Linked DNA regions of Homo sapiens: regions 2 and 3 are each linked to region 1. The links are contacts of gene promoters, found by promoter capture Hi-C in blood cells and fetal thymus (Javierre and others, 2016). All regions are on one chromosome and are shown on one strand. Each heading gives the region's core, a stretch centred on a gene start or on the middle of the fragment in contact. The rest is flanking DNA. Distances are from core to core; before and after follow the strand shown. Region 1 holds the start of GORASP1 (golgi reassembly stacking protein 1). Region 2 overlaps CSRNP1 (cysteine and serine rich nuclear protein 1). Region 3 overlaps LOC101928263 (a long non-coding RNA gene).

Evidence for each region. Contacts are between HindIII fragments. The CHiCAGO score rates a contact against its expected background, and 5 or more counts as called.
Region 2: a contact is called between a fragment that was not itself captured here and the fragment with the promoter of GORASP1 in region 1, in 6 of 17 cell types (total B cells, monocytes, naive B cells and 3 more). The highest score is 10.8, in total B cells.
Region 3: a contact is called between a fragment that was not itself captured here and the fragment with the promoter of GORASP1 in region 1, in 7 of 17 cell types (monocytes, total B cells, naive B cells and 4 more). The highest score is 12.6, in monocytes.

Annotation. Positions count from the first base shown.
Region 1 is chr3:39,105,281-39,110,023 of GRCh38, reverse strand. It overlaps GORASP1 (golgi reassembly stacking protein 1), which reads left to right and starts at 2,397. Exons shown (of 9, transcript NM_031899.4): 1 at 2,397-2,545. The coding sequence starts at 2,483. It overlaps TTC21A (tetratricopeptide repeat domain 21A), which reads right to left and starts at 2,344. Exons shown (of 29, transcript NM_001366900.1): 1 at 2,160-2,344; 2 at 810-939. The coding sequence starts at 2,186. RefSeq lists a silencer at 2,448-2,767. The HindIII fragment of the contact is 2,080 bases long and covers 1,355-3,434 here.
Region 2 is chr3:39,140,246-39,145,042 of GRCh38, reverse strand. CSRNP1 (cysteine and serine rich nuclear protein 1) reads left to right here. Exons shown (of 5, transcript NM_033027.4): 3 at 1-46; 4 at 592-906; 5 at 999-3,188. The coding sequence ends at 1,988. Among named protein-coding and RNA genes, the nearest start is that of MIR6822, 4.4 kb to the right of the region's middle. The HindIII fragment of the contact is 8,062 bases long and covers 1-4,797 here.
Region 3 is chr3:39,165,278-39,170,357 of GRCh38, reverse strand. LOC101928263 (a long non-coding RNA gene) reads right to left here. Exons shown (of 3, transcript XR_245209.4): 2 at 285-421. Among named protein-coding and RNA genes, the nearest start is that of CSRNP1, 14 kb to the right of the region's middle. RefSeq lists an enhancer at 3,906-4,200. The HindIII fragment of the contact is 2,483 bases long and covers 537-3,019 here.

The DNA.
Region 1 (4,743 bases), core at 1,148-3,647:
AAGACAGTCCACATAGTTATACTCTCAAGCTCCAGGACTAGAGGACATGAGACTCTGTAGCTGACCCAACAGCTCAGCACTACTACCTGCTGGACTAACTGGTCTGAAAGGTCCCCAGTGACCCAAGTTCCCTGAAGATTGGGGCTCTTTGAAAGAGTTGCTGGTAACATGGTCCAGGCTGTTAGGGGCTGGAAATCTTGGACTTGAAAGGTTCACCCTGTGAGTACTTGTGGGGATATGTGTGAGGCTGCAATTATTAGCTGCGTCAGTTCTGAAGAAGGACCTCAGGCAGGGCATTCTCAGCTACTGCTCAAGAGCCACTGATTACATTTATCCCTCCATGTCCTCAGACATTTGGCCATGGGCTATTCTGCCAGTCCTCAGCCTAGGACCACCTTCTGAATGTCAGCCCATCTGCACCTGCATGGGTCTCACTCCTCTCCCTGTACCTGTACCATACCCACCTGTCCTCACACCTACCTCTTCCCCCTCCTTTGCCTGCATTACCAGTTCTCAGCTTCCAGGCCTGGAATTACTTCAAGAATCATGCAGCTATCTCTCCAACCACTCATTTTACAGAGAGGGAACCCGAGGTGCAGAGCAGGGATAGTCAGCGCTCTGAGGTCTCAAAAGTCAACTAGATATGGATTACGTAGGCCTCTGTGGATTCCCGTGGGAATCCAGCCGCTGAGTGTGAAACTGTTTTTATGGGACCATAACTAGGATACAAGAAGGCATCCAGGTGGAGCCAGAGTGTTAGGGCCCAGCTAGTGCCTGGGGTCACAAGACCAACACTGCCAAGTCCTTACCTTCTTTGAGGACTCCATAGGCTTTAAAGAACTTCAACACAGGGTCATTGCTGAATTTTTCCAGGCCCACAGCTGCAGCCTGCTGCACATGGTGGAAGTACTTTTCCTGGCTATAGTAAATGATCCCAGCCTGTATGAAGGAAGACATAACTGCAATAGCCCAGTCCCTTCTCTGTCTCTGTTCTGTCCCAGATGGGATGAGACCTGCTCCCTTCCCTATCCCCTGCTCCTCCTCAGTTCTGCAAAGGGAAGAGAAAGAGGAAACATTCAGGCCTCATCCTGTCCTCTAACAGCCCTGGGAGCAGCTCCATGCAGTTTTCCCAGGAAAGAGTTTGGAGGTGTTTGTTTGGGGGATTACCAACAGATTCTGGTTCAACTATGATGGGGAATTCAACCAAGGCTTTGTCTTAGGAAGGGAATAAGGGGGGAAAAATGAGGACAAATAATAAGAAAAATTATACGAATTGTAGTTACAAGTTATTGTGGGCTTCATATCCACTATCCTGTGCATGGTCCTCTCAGTATCTTTCACAGCTAAGGAAGCTTAAGCCCATGGAAACTACAGCTTGACAAAGGGGCTGAGATTTTAAAGTTAAGTTTCACTTCCTCTAAGGTTTGTGGGTGCTAGGTTGGGAGCAGATGTGGTTGGACTGTAAACATCCTCATGGGCCATATGAAAGAGCCCAGACACCATCCTAAGGGTAACAGAAAGCAGAATGGTTTTAAGGCGAGGGATGTTTTCAGATGTACATTTTTGCAACAACCACTCTGGCTGCTTTTGCATGTGGGGGGTGTGTGCCGTGGTGGCAGCAGGGACTACTGATGCTGAAAAGAGCCACAGCAGAGAAACCAGATGGGAGGGAGGCTGTTGCAGGCTCTCAGGGGGGAGAGATGGTGCTGGTTCTGGGCTAGAAGATAAAAAGATAAAAAGAAAACCCAGGAGACATCAAGGAGCTGGCATTTCTTGTAGACAGGATTAGAAGATGAGTATAGGGAAGAGGTATGAGTTAAGGCTAGGAGATTAAATGGTGAAGCCATCAACTGGGGTGGGAGGCGCAGGCGAGAGTGAGCTGGGTGGAAGAAGGGATGATGACAAGAAGGGATAATGATAGTGATTGGATGAGCTGGTTTGGGGTAGCTCAAGAAACGGGGATGCTAATTTGGGGCTCAGGGTGCGCAGAAGCCACCGGAGAAGACGCCCTTGCCAGGGGGAGTGGGGCAAGAAAAGGCAGGACCGCCTGATATAACTGAGGACAGCGAAGGGTGGCAGGAGAGTAGCAGGGCAGACGGTCTCTGGGTCAGGGGCGGGGAGTCACGAGGGAGCCCTCGGACAGCGCCCGGGCCACGCACCATAAGGGAGGAGTCATTGCTGCTCATCTCGGGCCGCTCGCGGCTCCGAGTCCGGGTCTGGTGGGGCGGTGCAGAGCGGGATTCCCGAGGCAGGGTCGTGGGCACTCTATCGCGGCGGGCGGTTGAAGGCGTTACAGTCCTTGGAAACCGAGCTGCTAGCCGGTTGCTAGGAGCGTCCAGTGTCTGGAGTGGGAGGAACAAAACGCCTCACGTCACAAGGCGCAGGAATCGAGCGCCGAGAGAGCGAGTCGGTGCTACTGGCGTCGGGTCGGTCCGGGTAGGCGCAGCGGGACTGGACCTGGGTGCCGAGCGGAGCCGCTGCCATGGGCCTGGGCGTCAGCGCTGAGCAGCCCGCAGGCGGCGCCGAGGGCTTCCACCTCCACGGGGTGAGTTGCCGCCGCGGCGCCGGTGACCTTGGCGAGGCGCCCGCAACCCCGCGCCCGGGCGTCCGGTCGCCGGCTGGCTGGCGACTGCGGCGGGGTCCCGGCCCGAGTGTTTCCGCCTGGGTGGCGGGAGGTGCCCCCTGCCCGGTGGGAGCCTCCTGGGAGAGGCGGCCTCGCGGGACTCCCGGACCCTGGCTAGTCCGCGGCCGCGGTCGGGCCCAGCGCCCGCCCCAAGTGCCAGCAGTGCCGGAAGCGGAGCGTTTTCCTGGTCCGGCCGCCGGGAATGGCGCTCCTCCCGGGTGAAGAATGCACCACTACCAGTCGGGACGCACTCGTGCACTTAGCACACATTTACGCTCGCCTGCCGCGGGCCGCTCTCCGTGCTGGGCCTGGGAAGAGAGTCAGCCACGCCGAGGACAGTCCCGGGGGCCGGGGTTAACCGAGTGGACGCAGCTGCGGGGGAGCCCGTCGGCGCGCGTCCTGCCAGTCGTAGGGTCGTAAGGGCTTCCGAGGGTAGAGGACCGGTGCAAACCAGCCACGGGATAGTGGGGAGCGGGAGGGCCGGGAGAGTGCTGCAGAATCCTCGAGGAGAGCGTTTGCAGCTGGGGAGGGTCCCAGCCTTTAGATGCCGCTACATGGAGGTCTGGGCGAGCAGGCTTCCGGAGAGTGGAGACGGAGTGGGGTTCCTAGAACGGAGTGTGCTGTGAGGGTGAGGAGAGGGTCCCGCAGCCGGATGGAGATTTGTGCCTGCGGTGAGGGAAGGGCTATAATGTAGGTGAGAGGGGCTGGGGGTCTCTGACCCCGGAGCGCTGCGGGGAAGAGGCGTCCCTGCACCCCCCCTTTCCCTAGTGAAAGGCAGCTGGATGCAGAGATGAGTGGAGACAGGCAAGCTTGTCGGTTTGTGTGTTTTGAAGGTAGGGTCTGTTGCCAGCTAACCACATGAGAGGGCTAAAAGTTTCTTAACGTGAAAACCAGGCTGGCTTGGAGAACCCAGAGTTGACAGGATTTGTGCTTGGGAATGGGCTTTCTTATGGTGAGACACCAAACAGCAAGCGTGGACAGTGGAATGCATCCAGCCAGGAGCGTCTTCCAACAGGTTTGATTAAAGGCAAAGGAACTCAGGATATTGGCAAGAGGAGGGGTGGGGCGATGATGGGAGCTTCGAAGACGGGAGGGGCCTGCCTGATGGAGAGGGACAAATTGGAGAGGGACCAGGGATCAGAGGTTGTCAGTCACAAAAACAAAGTTTTGAGCTCCTACTCTGGCAGGCAGAATTCTAAGGCTCTAGAGATAAAGCAGTGAACAGAACAAACATGGTCCCTGTTCTGGAGCTGACATTTGGATGATGGTAGGGAAAGAAGGGAAATGAAAAAATACATGGTAGGTGGTAATTACCAGTGATAAAAATAAAGCAGGTTAAGGGGATACAGAATGGTGAGTGGGTGCTATTTTTGATAGAGTGGTCAGGAAGGGCCTCTTCTCAAGTCACATTCGAACAGATGCTTCTGAAGGAAGTAAAGAGTGGACAATACAGATATTTAGGGGAATAGTAGTATTCCAGGCAGAAGGACCAGCTTGTGCAGAGGCCCCGAGGTAGGTTGTGCTTGTGTGTTTGAGGAAATGCCAGGTGAGGCTGGTGTGCTTGGATGGTGTGGCCAGTGTGAGGAGGAGACCAGAGCAGACCGTGTAGGACCTTGCCTGTTGTCCTGAAGATTTAAGATTTTATTCTGAGATGTAAAACCATCAGGAGGTTTTAAATGGAGGAGTGACATGACCTACTTACCTTTAACAACACTGAAGAACAGCTGTGCTGCATTCTAGAAATATTGGCACCTCGCTGCGTGCCCAATACTTTGGAGAAGTCGCTGCCCTCAGCGAGCTTAGAGTAGTGGCAGATTCACCAGGAAACAGCTGTTAGGAGAGGGCAGTGGTTAGGGGGAGGGCTCTGGGTTGGATTTCCTGGGGTCAAATTACTGAATTATTGAGTACTTGGTCTCATTTGTCATTTGAGGTTATTAAAAAGGTTAAATGACACATAAAGCAGGTGAGGTGGTGCCATGCCCTGGCACTCAGCCAACCAGCCCTTAGTAAGTGTAAGTTGTGATCACTGTGAGTTCCATTAGGTTCCCTGATTGGGAAAAATAGGGTGGGAGCATGAGGAAAAGCAGCACTATAGGGCCTTGGGGCAGGCTGTGATGGGA
Region 2 (4,797 bases), core at 1,796-4,295, 34 kb before region 1:
CCGCCAGCGCTTGAAAGAGGAGAAGTTGGAGATGCTGCAGTGGAAGGTAGAGAGAGTCCTCTCCGTGGCGCACCTCCTGAGGCAGCTCCTGGAGTCCTAACCTTGAGGGGTGGGCGTACCAGGGGTGGGTGCTGACTTGCTCATTATGGTTATGGGGAAACAGGCCTGTGGGCCTGGTGATTGGCTTGATTGGAGCCTGTTGCCTGGGTTGTCTGCAACAGGAGGCGCAGAGGAGGGCTCGTGTCTATTTGCTGCAGGGGCTGGGGGCATGATACCTGAATCTGAACTTTTTGGAGAGGGGGATGTGAAGTTGATATGAACTGGAGGGGGTGCGTATCTGTCTGGTTAGGAAAGGGAGTCTGTCCATGATCTAGGGAATGCCATGAGTAGGATATCTCTTTTTTTTTTTTTCAAATGCCCTGAGGGCAGTTTTCTTGGCTGTCCTGTTCACTGTCTGACACACAGTGCCCATCGCAGATTAAGCACGAGTAGTGGGGGGGTAAGCACTTGGGGAGGGTTTGTCTAGTGACAGTAGGGCTAAGCCCATGTCCATGTCTGTGCTTCTTACATCCCTCTTTCCTGTGGATGCAGCTTTCGGCAGCTGGGGTACCCCAGGCAGAGGCAGGGCTGCCACCTGTGGTGGATGCCATTGATGACGCCTCTGTGGAGGAGGACTTGGCAGTCGCTGTGGCAGGTGGCCGGTTGGAAGAAGTGAGCTTCCTACAGCCCTACCCAGCCCGGCGACGTCGAGCTCTGCTGAGGGCTTCAGGTGTGCGAAGGATCGATCGGGAGGAGAAGCGGGAGCTGCAGGCACTGCGCCAATCCCGGGAGGATTGTGGCTGTCACTGCGATAGGATCTGCGACCCTGAGACCTGCAGCTGCAGCCTGGCAGGCATCAAGTGCCAGGTGTGGTGGCTGGACTGGGATGGGGATCCTGAGCGTGGGGACTTCTTTGCACTCCACAGAACCCTCACTTGTACCTCTACTTTTCTCTGCAGATGGACCACACAGCATTCCCCTGTGGCTGCTGCAGGGAGGGCTGTGAGAACCCCATGGGCCGTGTGGAATTTAATCAGGCAAGAGTTCAGACCCATTTCATCCACACACTCACCCGCCTGCAGTTGGAACAGGAGGCTGAGAGCTTTAGGGAGCTGGAGGCCCCTGCCCAGGGCAGCCCACCCAGCCCTGGTGAGGAGGCCCTGGTCCCTACTTTCCCACTGGCCAAGCCCCCCATGAACAATGAGCTGGGAGACAACAGCTGCAGCAGCGACATGACTGATTCTTCTACAGCATCTTCATCAGCATCGGGCACTAGTGAGGCTCCTGACTGCCCCACCCACCCAGGCCTGCCTGGCCCTGGCTTCCAGCCTGGCGTTGATGATGACAGCCTGGCACGCATCTTGAGTTTCAGTGACTCTGACTTCGGTGGGGAGGAGGAGGAAGAGGAGGAAGGGAGCGTGGGGAACCTGGACAACCTCAGCTGCTTCCATCCAGCTGACATCTTTGGTACTAGTGACCCTGGTGGCCTGGCCAGCTGGACCCACAGCTATTCTGGCTGTAGCTTCACATCAGGCGTCCTGGATGAGAATGCCAACCTGGATGCCAGCTGCTTCCTAAATGGTGGCCTTGAAGGGTCAAGGGAAGGCAGCCTTCCTGGCACCTCAGTGCCACCCAGCATGGACGCTGGCCGGAGTAGCTCAGTGGATCTCAGCTTGTCTTCTTGTGACTCCTTTGAGTTACTCCAGGCTCTGCCAGATTATAGTCTGGGGCCTCACTACACATCACAGAAGGTGTCTGACAGCCTGGACAACATCGAGGCACCTCACTTCCCCCTGCCTGGCCTGTCTCCACCTGGGGATGCCAGCAGTTGCTTCCTGGAGTCCCTCATGGGCTTCTCCGAGCCAGCCGCCGAAGCCCTAGATCCCTTTATTGACAGCCAGTTTGAGGACACTGTCCCAGCATCTCTAATGGAGCCTGTGCCGGTGTGAGGACCAGGATGTCTTTTCCCAGCCCCAAGAGACCTGTTGCTGCTTTCTTGTAATTATGGGGCTCCCCAGAGTCTGCGTAACAGTCTCCCACTGGCTGGCTCACCCACAGGTGCCATGTGCACACTCCTGGTTTTCAAACAATTCTCTGGATTTATTTATTTGTTTTAACTTTTCTGTGCTGAAGAGAGGACTGGGGGGAGGGGGCTTCCCCTTTCAGCTGCCCGGCCCCCCACACCCACAGCTTGCTCTTCTATCTCCACAACGTGAGCCTGGAAGAGGAGAAAATGTGGCTCCTCTGGAGCTTGGCAGACCACTTTTCGGTCTTTGCGTGATGTTCCTTAGCCCAAAGACGGTGAGACAGGGCTGAAATCAGGTGGCTTCTGCCACCCTGAGCCCTAGACCCATGGGTGGCTAAATCCACTGGACTGTGAAGACTATAATTTATTTCCATAATTTATTTGGAGATTGAGGAGGCTTTGGTTGCACTTCTTTGGCTGGTGGGTAATGCCAGGGGTGGGGTGGGCACAGGCCCTCAAGAGCCCCTTTTGCCTTGTAGTCCTACACCTTGCCCTGCCTGGGCTTTGGTGCAGACTAGGTGTGGATTTGAGCTCTGTGATCTATGTCTGCTGCCTGGCTCCTAGATGGCTCTGTGGGCAGGTGCTGGCCAAGGACATCATCTAGGCAGGGGGAGAGCCTGGGCTGAACAGCTGTGACCAAAACTCCCTTCTGCCCCACCCTGCCCCCTCCACTTCCTGCCCTCTGTTCCATCTTCCCCCTTCCCAAAGGCCACAGCCTTTATTCCAGGCCCAGGGATGTAGGAGGGGGAAGGAGGAAACAGGAAGCCCAGAGAGGGCAAAGGGCCTACCTCGGGGCGCGAACCATGCCCCAGACTATTATCTCAGGGCTTTCTGGGCACTGCACTTCAGCGTGGCCCACCTGCCCATGCCCTGAGGCCAGTTGGCGAGGGGTGGCTCCTGAGGGTTTTTATACCCTTTGTTTGCTAATGTTTAATTTTGCATCATAATTTCTACATTGTCCCTGAGTGTCAGAACTATAATTTATTCCATTTCTCTCTGTGTCTGTGCCAAGAAACGCAGGCTCTGGGCCTGCCCCTTGCCCAGGAGGCCTTGCCAGCCTGTGTGCTTGTGGGAACACCTTGTACCTGAGCTTACAGGTACCAATAAAGAGGCTTTATTTTTAGCAATGTGGTATGTATTTGTGGGGTGGGAAGCAGGGGCAAAGGGGATGGGGGACAAGCCCTGCAGAGGGGAGTATGGACACAGGCTGTGTTGAGGGGTAGGAGTAGGCACACCCAGCATATTGGGCCTCTTTCCAGGCAAGCCAGTCAAGTTGGAGGCAGGAAGCCAGCTGAGAGGCTGGCCAGGCAGATAGAGCAGTTTTTCCTTTGGAGTAACCTGTTCCTCTACAGTGGTGACCTGGGGTGGTGGGGAGGAGCAGCACCAGGGTCTTCTGACATGGGGCTATCTGCTGGGGATGGGTAAGGGCACCCTTCTTCCTACACACCCACACTGAGCTGAGGCCTTGTCCTGAGGGTGAATTCACCAACCTGGGTGGAGGCAGGGTAAGGGCATGTGCCTGGTCAAGGCCTGGTGATGGCCTTACGTAGCAGCTGTGGTCCCTGGGGACTTGAGCAGGGGGGCAGCGGAAAGGGCAGGGGGAAGCTGCAGAACCTCATCCCTCTGCACCAGCCAGACCTGTCTGACCTGTCCCTGGCAGCTCAGCTGGGCAGCAGGCCAGAGGAGTAGGCCACACCCTGCTCTGGGGAGCCCCAGTCTGGGGGCCTGAGAAAGGTTGACTTCCCCCTTAGGAATGATAGTGATTTGTACAAGAGCTGGAAGGAGGAACCGCCAGAGGAGAACTGATTTGGGTCTCCTTGCTCTAATTCTCTGCCTTGGTCTGTACTGGGCTCACTCATCTCTTTGGCTTAACTGGTAAGAGCACAGAGCCAGAATGCTGGGCTTGAATCTCAGATTTTCTGCTACCTAGTGAGGTGATTTGTGCAAATTACTCCCTCTGTGCCTGGGTGTCCTCAATACTACATGCAAACAGTAACACTACTCACCTCATAAACTTGTTTATTTCATATTTACAAAGCCCTTAAAGAGTGCCTGGAACATGCAAGTCCTGTGTATGTTTGCAACTTGCATTGATTTTCATGTTTCTGCCATTCTTTCTCTGAATGTTTAATCCTTTTTTTGCCTGTCCTGTCACCCTTCAGGTATCTGTCTCTTGCCTCTGGACATGCATGGTCATGACCACATGGCCATATCAGTGCCATTAGAGGACTCATAGTTTGGAGTCTGGCCTATGGTGCGGCAGTATGTCCCTGTAACCAGCTTAACTAGGAATAGGCTTCTCAGGTTAGAGTACCCTGGTACATTGAGTTGTCCTGTCTCTTCTTCACTGGTGCCTAGACACCCTTCTGTAGCGATTACTTCAGCAAGCACAATCCAAAACCTGGGTTCTTCAAGGGTTCCCAGGGTCACTCTGATTGGCCTGGTGGTCTGGGTGGCAGCCCTCAGCTCCAGTACTCTGGCAGGAAGTCCCAACAGGCTTCCACCACATGGACTCAGCCCATGGCTGGACTGAGGCCTGCCTACTCCCATCTAGGGCCACAGGGTTCTTAGTTTTTGTTTCTCTGTTTTTAGATAAATGAAGACAATCTAGGTTTTACAGCAAAAACATGATTAATGTACAATCCCTTTACAGGATCATTCTCCATATAGATAGACCTGTCAACAAACCTGTCCCAACAAAACTGGGTTGTAAAGCAGATCACAGAAAGGGG
Region 3 (5,080 bases), core at 529-3,028, 61 kb before region 1:
AAATACAAAAATTAGCCGGGCATGGTGGCAGGTGCCTGTAGTCCCAGCTACTTGGGAGGCTGAGGCAGGAGAATCGCCTGAACCCAGGAGGTGGAGGTTGCAGTGAGCTGAGATTGTGCCACTGCAGTCCAGCCTGGGCAACAGGGTGAGAGGTGAGACTCTGTCTCAAAAAACAAACAAACAAACAAACAAACAAAACCTGAGGTGAGGGATCTGGACAGGACACAGCTAGGAGAGCGGGTGATTTTACCAGCAGGGCCATGATTCTAATAGGCCCTACTTACCTTGGGGTAGTGGATGATTGAGAGGGTAAGCTTATGGTTTAAACTCCTTCCAAAGCTTCCTCTGAAGTTGGAATGGCAAAATCATTGTCTGGAGTCAGGTCATGGGTTCATGATATAACCTCTTTCTTGGCCTTAGTCTGTCAAATGGAAATAAGAAAAGGTCCATAGGTTAGACATTTCCAATCGGTTATTTAGAAAACTAGGTTAGAAGCCAATTTCTTCTTCTGGAAATGGTTGACAGGGTCACAAGCTTCTCTCATAGGAAATAGGAAAAGATGAAGCACAGAGAAAAATGCCTTGTTCTGTGGGACATGAATCCATCTCAGTTTCTTTTTCTTTTTCTTCTTCTTCTTCTTCTTCTTTTTTTTTTTTTTTTTTTTTTTTTTTTGAGACAGAGTTTCACTCTTGTTGTCCAGGCTGGAGTGCAGTGGCGCAATCTCGGCTCACTACAACCTCTGCCTCCTGGGTTCAAGCAATTCTCCTGCCTCAACCTACCGAGTAGCTGGGATTACAGGCATGCCCCACCATGCCCGGTTAATTTTTGTATATTTAGTAGAGACAAGGTCTCACCACGTTGGCCGGGCTGGTCTCGAACTTCTGACCTCAGGCGATTCACCCTCCTTGGCCTCCCAAAGTGCTGGGATTATAAGTGTGAGCCACCACGCCCAGCCCCCTCTCAGTTTCTTTGAGATCCACAGAGCCAGGGTCTAATCCCAGAGAGAAACGAGTGTGTACACAGATGATCTCCTACTTACTATGGTTCTATTTACAATTTTTGTACTTCACTATAGTGTGAAAGCTATACACATTTAGTAGAAACCGTACTTCAAGTACCCATACAACTATTCTATTTTTCACTTTTAGTATTTAATAAATTACAGGACATATGCAACACTTTATTGTAAGATAGTCTTAAAAGTGTTAGATGATTTTGCCCAGCTGTAGGCTAGTATAAATGTTCTGAACACATTTAAAGTAGGAGAGGCTAAGCTATGTTGTTTAGTAGGTTAGGTGTATTAAATGCATTTTTGACTAATGATATTTTCAATTTATGATGGGTTTATCAGGACTTAACTCCATCATAAGCCGAAGAGATCTCTGTGTGGGATGTTTGTGTGGGGACTTCTTTAGGAAAGATCCAGGAAGGAACAGACCAGAAAACCCTTCATTTCAATGGTGAGGGCAGGAGCGGAAGGAGAAAAACACAAGAGCTGGGAAAGCGAGGTGAGAGGGGTTCAGGGGAGAGAGGAGGTACAGAGTGGTCAGGCCCAGCCCTTCACTGGCTGGAGACCCCTTCCAGCCTTAGCTTCCTCTTCTCTTATTCCCCTCCTGCCCCAGCTTATGCCAGGAGCTCCCTGTCCTCAGTGGATCTTCCAGGTAAGTCTAAGAAGGGCTGAGGCCCCTGTGTGTCTTGCCTGGTTGGGGGAGTTCAGGTTACACCTCCAAGGCAGCCCCCAAGGGCATCAGGACATCAGTCTATGCTGGTTCCATAGAAACACCAGGGCCGCTGGGTCTGTCCCTCACCATAGAGTAACCCTAGGCACTTCAGGGCCCCGACTCTGGGCCACAGTCCGCTCATTGATGAAATGAGCAGAGTTGTCTAGAATAGTTTTTCCTAAAATGTGTTCCATGAATCTCAGAGCCGGCAGGGATATTTCAAAGAAAAAACTGCCTCGAGCTCATTTCCCTCAGAAGCAAACCCAGAGACAAAGATTTGAGTGTTTCACTTGGATCCCAGGAAGCACTCATGGAAAGAAAGGAAGATGGGCAGGGAAGGGAAGGAAACCAACACAGGGTGTGTTGATGAGTAAATTACCAGGGTGGGCAGCTGCAGCTCAATCTCCCTGGGACCTCTGGGATGCTGTCTGGAACACCCCTCAGTGTCTACCCTAACCCATTGTCAGCTAAGGGCTGTATTCAGGGGCATGTCCAGCCTGCCCTGTGTGCCTGTGGAGCATAGTCCTGTGACCAGAAACATCACTCAGGCAGAGAGTCACCTGTGTTTGCAGTGAGAAACCATCAGGAGGTGTGAGAACTATGAAGGCCAAGGGGATACAAGCAGGGCATGGCTACACAGAGGTTGCTACACAGACAAGAAATTTTGTTCACATACATTTCATAAATGTGAGATCAATGATAATTTCCATAGAAATCTCAATACCTTTGTAATAATTATCATGGTCTTGTAGCATGCACCTGGGCCATCAGAGCTGAATTAAGCAGTTTAGCTCAGCTTGTATTTAGTAAAGAGAATAAATACCATTAGCTGTAGTCCAACTTGATAAAACATTTTCATACTGTTTTCATGGTATTATTTATATTTATTATATTTCCATTTTATTGTTACTATTATTGTTATTATATCATATAATAATGGCAGTATGGCCCCAAATCATAAAGATAGATCCATCGTTCAAAAAAGGTTCATTAAAGAATAAAAGTATTATTGAAAATAGTAACAAAAATACTGCAATATAAAGTGTGATTATATATATTAGGGCTGATGAGTGGTTGAATCAGATGATTTTATACAAGTAGGAAAAAAAGTACGAATCAGAAATAAGGGTATGGGAATGAATATCCAAAAATAGGATTTTGTTAGCTTGTAATGCATTTCCTCTTGAGGCATCATCTATTGTGAAACTTGTCAGATAGTGGCATGATGCCCAGTGAGGCCTTTGCATCATATTTGTTTGCATCAGACCTTGTAAGCTAGTTAGAAAACCAATCAAGCTTCTCCTGAATGTGAGTAAATAAAGTCTACTGTGATAGGGATGCACTTTCTCACTAAAGACAGAGAAAAGATTGAAACCACAAAGGCATCATTAAACTTGTCCAACTTACAGTGAAAATCAACACAATTCACATCATGGCTTATAAACTGAGTCATAGGCTACCAGGGAATATGATGATTACAGAAAAAGCAGAGCAAGCTCTTGATGAAATTACTGGATCAAACAACACTTTTGGCTGTCACAGAAAATCAATGGCACATTCTGTGAAAGAGCAATTGCTGTCCTGAGTGAGTGCTAGCACACAATTGGCTTCATTGTTGAATAAAACTACTTGTGGTAAGCCTCATTCATTGTCAAGAATTCATCCCATCCCTGCCTTCTTGATGACAAATCCCTGATTTTGATCCATGCACCAAAGTCTCCAGTCTCAAGCAATTAATTACAAGTCATCTAAATCAGGCATGATCAACCCATTTTCCACCTTTCCAGTCTTCCTTGCTACTATAGGAGACCACGAAGCCCCATTCTGATCAATGAAATGTGATGGGAAGTCTGCTGAGGGTACTTCTTGAAAATTTTTGTTTTCTTAATAATTAGGCATACATGCTGGTACCTCTTTCCCTCCTTCTTCCTAAGTTGACCATGCCTGGGGCTGGGCAGCCATCTTGCAAATATGAAGCAACCAGTACAAGGTAAAAGCTGAAATAATTGTAGGCACATCCGCACTGCCATTATTGAGCCACTGAATGTCAGTGGTTGACTACTTCAAGACTGCCTGCTATAGTATAGAAGTCAACCTCTCTATGTTTAAAGCCACTGTAACTTGTTTTCCATCACTGATAGTTGCAGACATTGCTAATGGGTGCACCACTGGTGTGTGGAGTGTGAGTCAGCTCTTCACATATTTTCAAGACACATGAGGGAAATGTGCTTGTTAACTTTTTATGCTGTTTATCACCGAATTCCTTTGCAAGATTAGATGAATGAGCTTCTGGCTCCCAGTTGGGTTTCAGCAATGGCAATCCCCAGCAGGAAATGGAGAAGGAAGAGAGTGAGATCAGGGCACTTAATCCCCTGGCTTCCTGCCTGTGAGTCACCATGGGTTGGATGCATCCTTCAACAGGAGGCCACTGGTCCTCCCAAGACAGCCCACTCCATCGGTTCTCTCCCTTCTAATGACACCTTCCACCCTTTTTTTCTTCAGGCCTGTTGGTGGTAACAGCTTTGCTACTGCTTCTCCAGTTTATTGTATCATCTCTTGGCATACTTCTATATCTGCAAGACTGCAAATAGTCCCCTTGTAAACAAGCCTTCCTAAAATCAGGCTTCCTAAAACAAGCCTTTTTTTTTTTTAAAGTGAAAACAAGTTTATTAAGAAAGTAAAGGAATAAAATAATGGCTACTCCATAGGCAGAGCCGCCTCATCTTGGTTTTAAGTGTGCTATTATCTTTTGGTATACTGACTGACCAACCAGCATCAATTCACAGATTTAAAAAAAAAAAAAAAAACTTGCAGCTGAATGTCAACCATACACCACTGTATTCACAAAGACCAGCTGTCAGGCAACAATCTGGCTCCTAATCTCGATATATATAGAAACAAATAGCAAGAAGAGTCAATGCCTTCAATTCATGGCCTCTCCTATTATGTCTTCTCAGAATACTGTGTAGAGAAATGGACAGTAAGTCAAAGACACTGTTGAACAAAGTATGCTGGTTGCTGAAGGAAAGATATTCACATGAGGTTTTGAAAGAAGAGATGAGATACAGCATCCCTTTGTGGTACTGATAGCTCTTTGATGTAGGTGGCTAGTTCAAGCAGCATCTCAGTGGCACATTCAGTATCTTGATTACCCTGAACTTTTGGCTTCTGGGCAAGGCTATCAACCTCTTTCATATTGAGAAAAAGACATCAAGATTTTGAAGACAGAACTGTGGTGCCAAAGCTTAGCCTTTGAGAATACAACTCTTTTCCTACATCTAAATGTTTTCTTTTCTTGGCAGAGAAATAAATTGATATAAAAGCAACCACTAGAAATATTAAAAACAGACTTATGAACC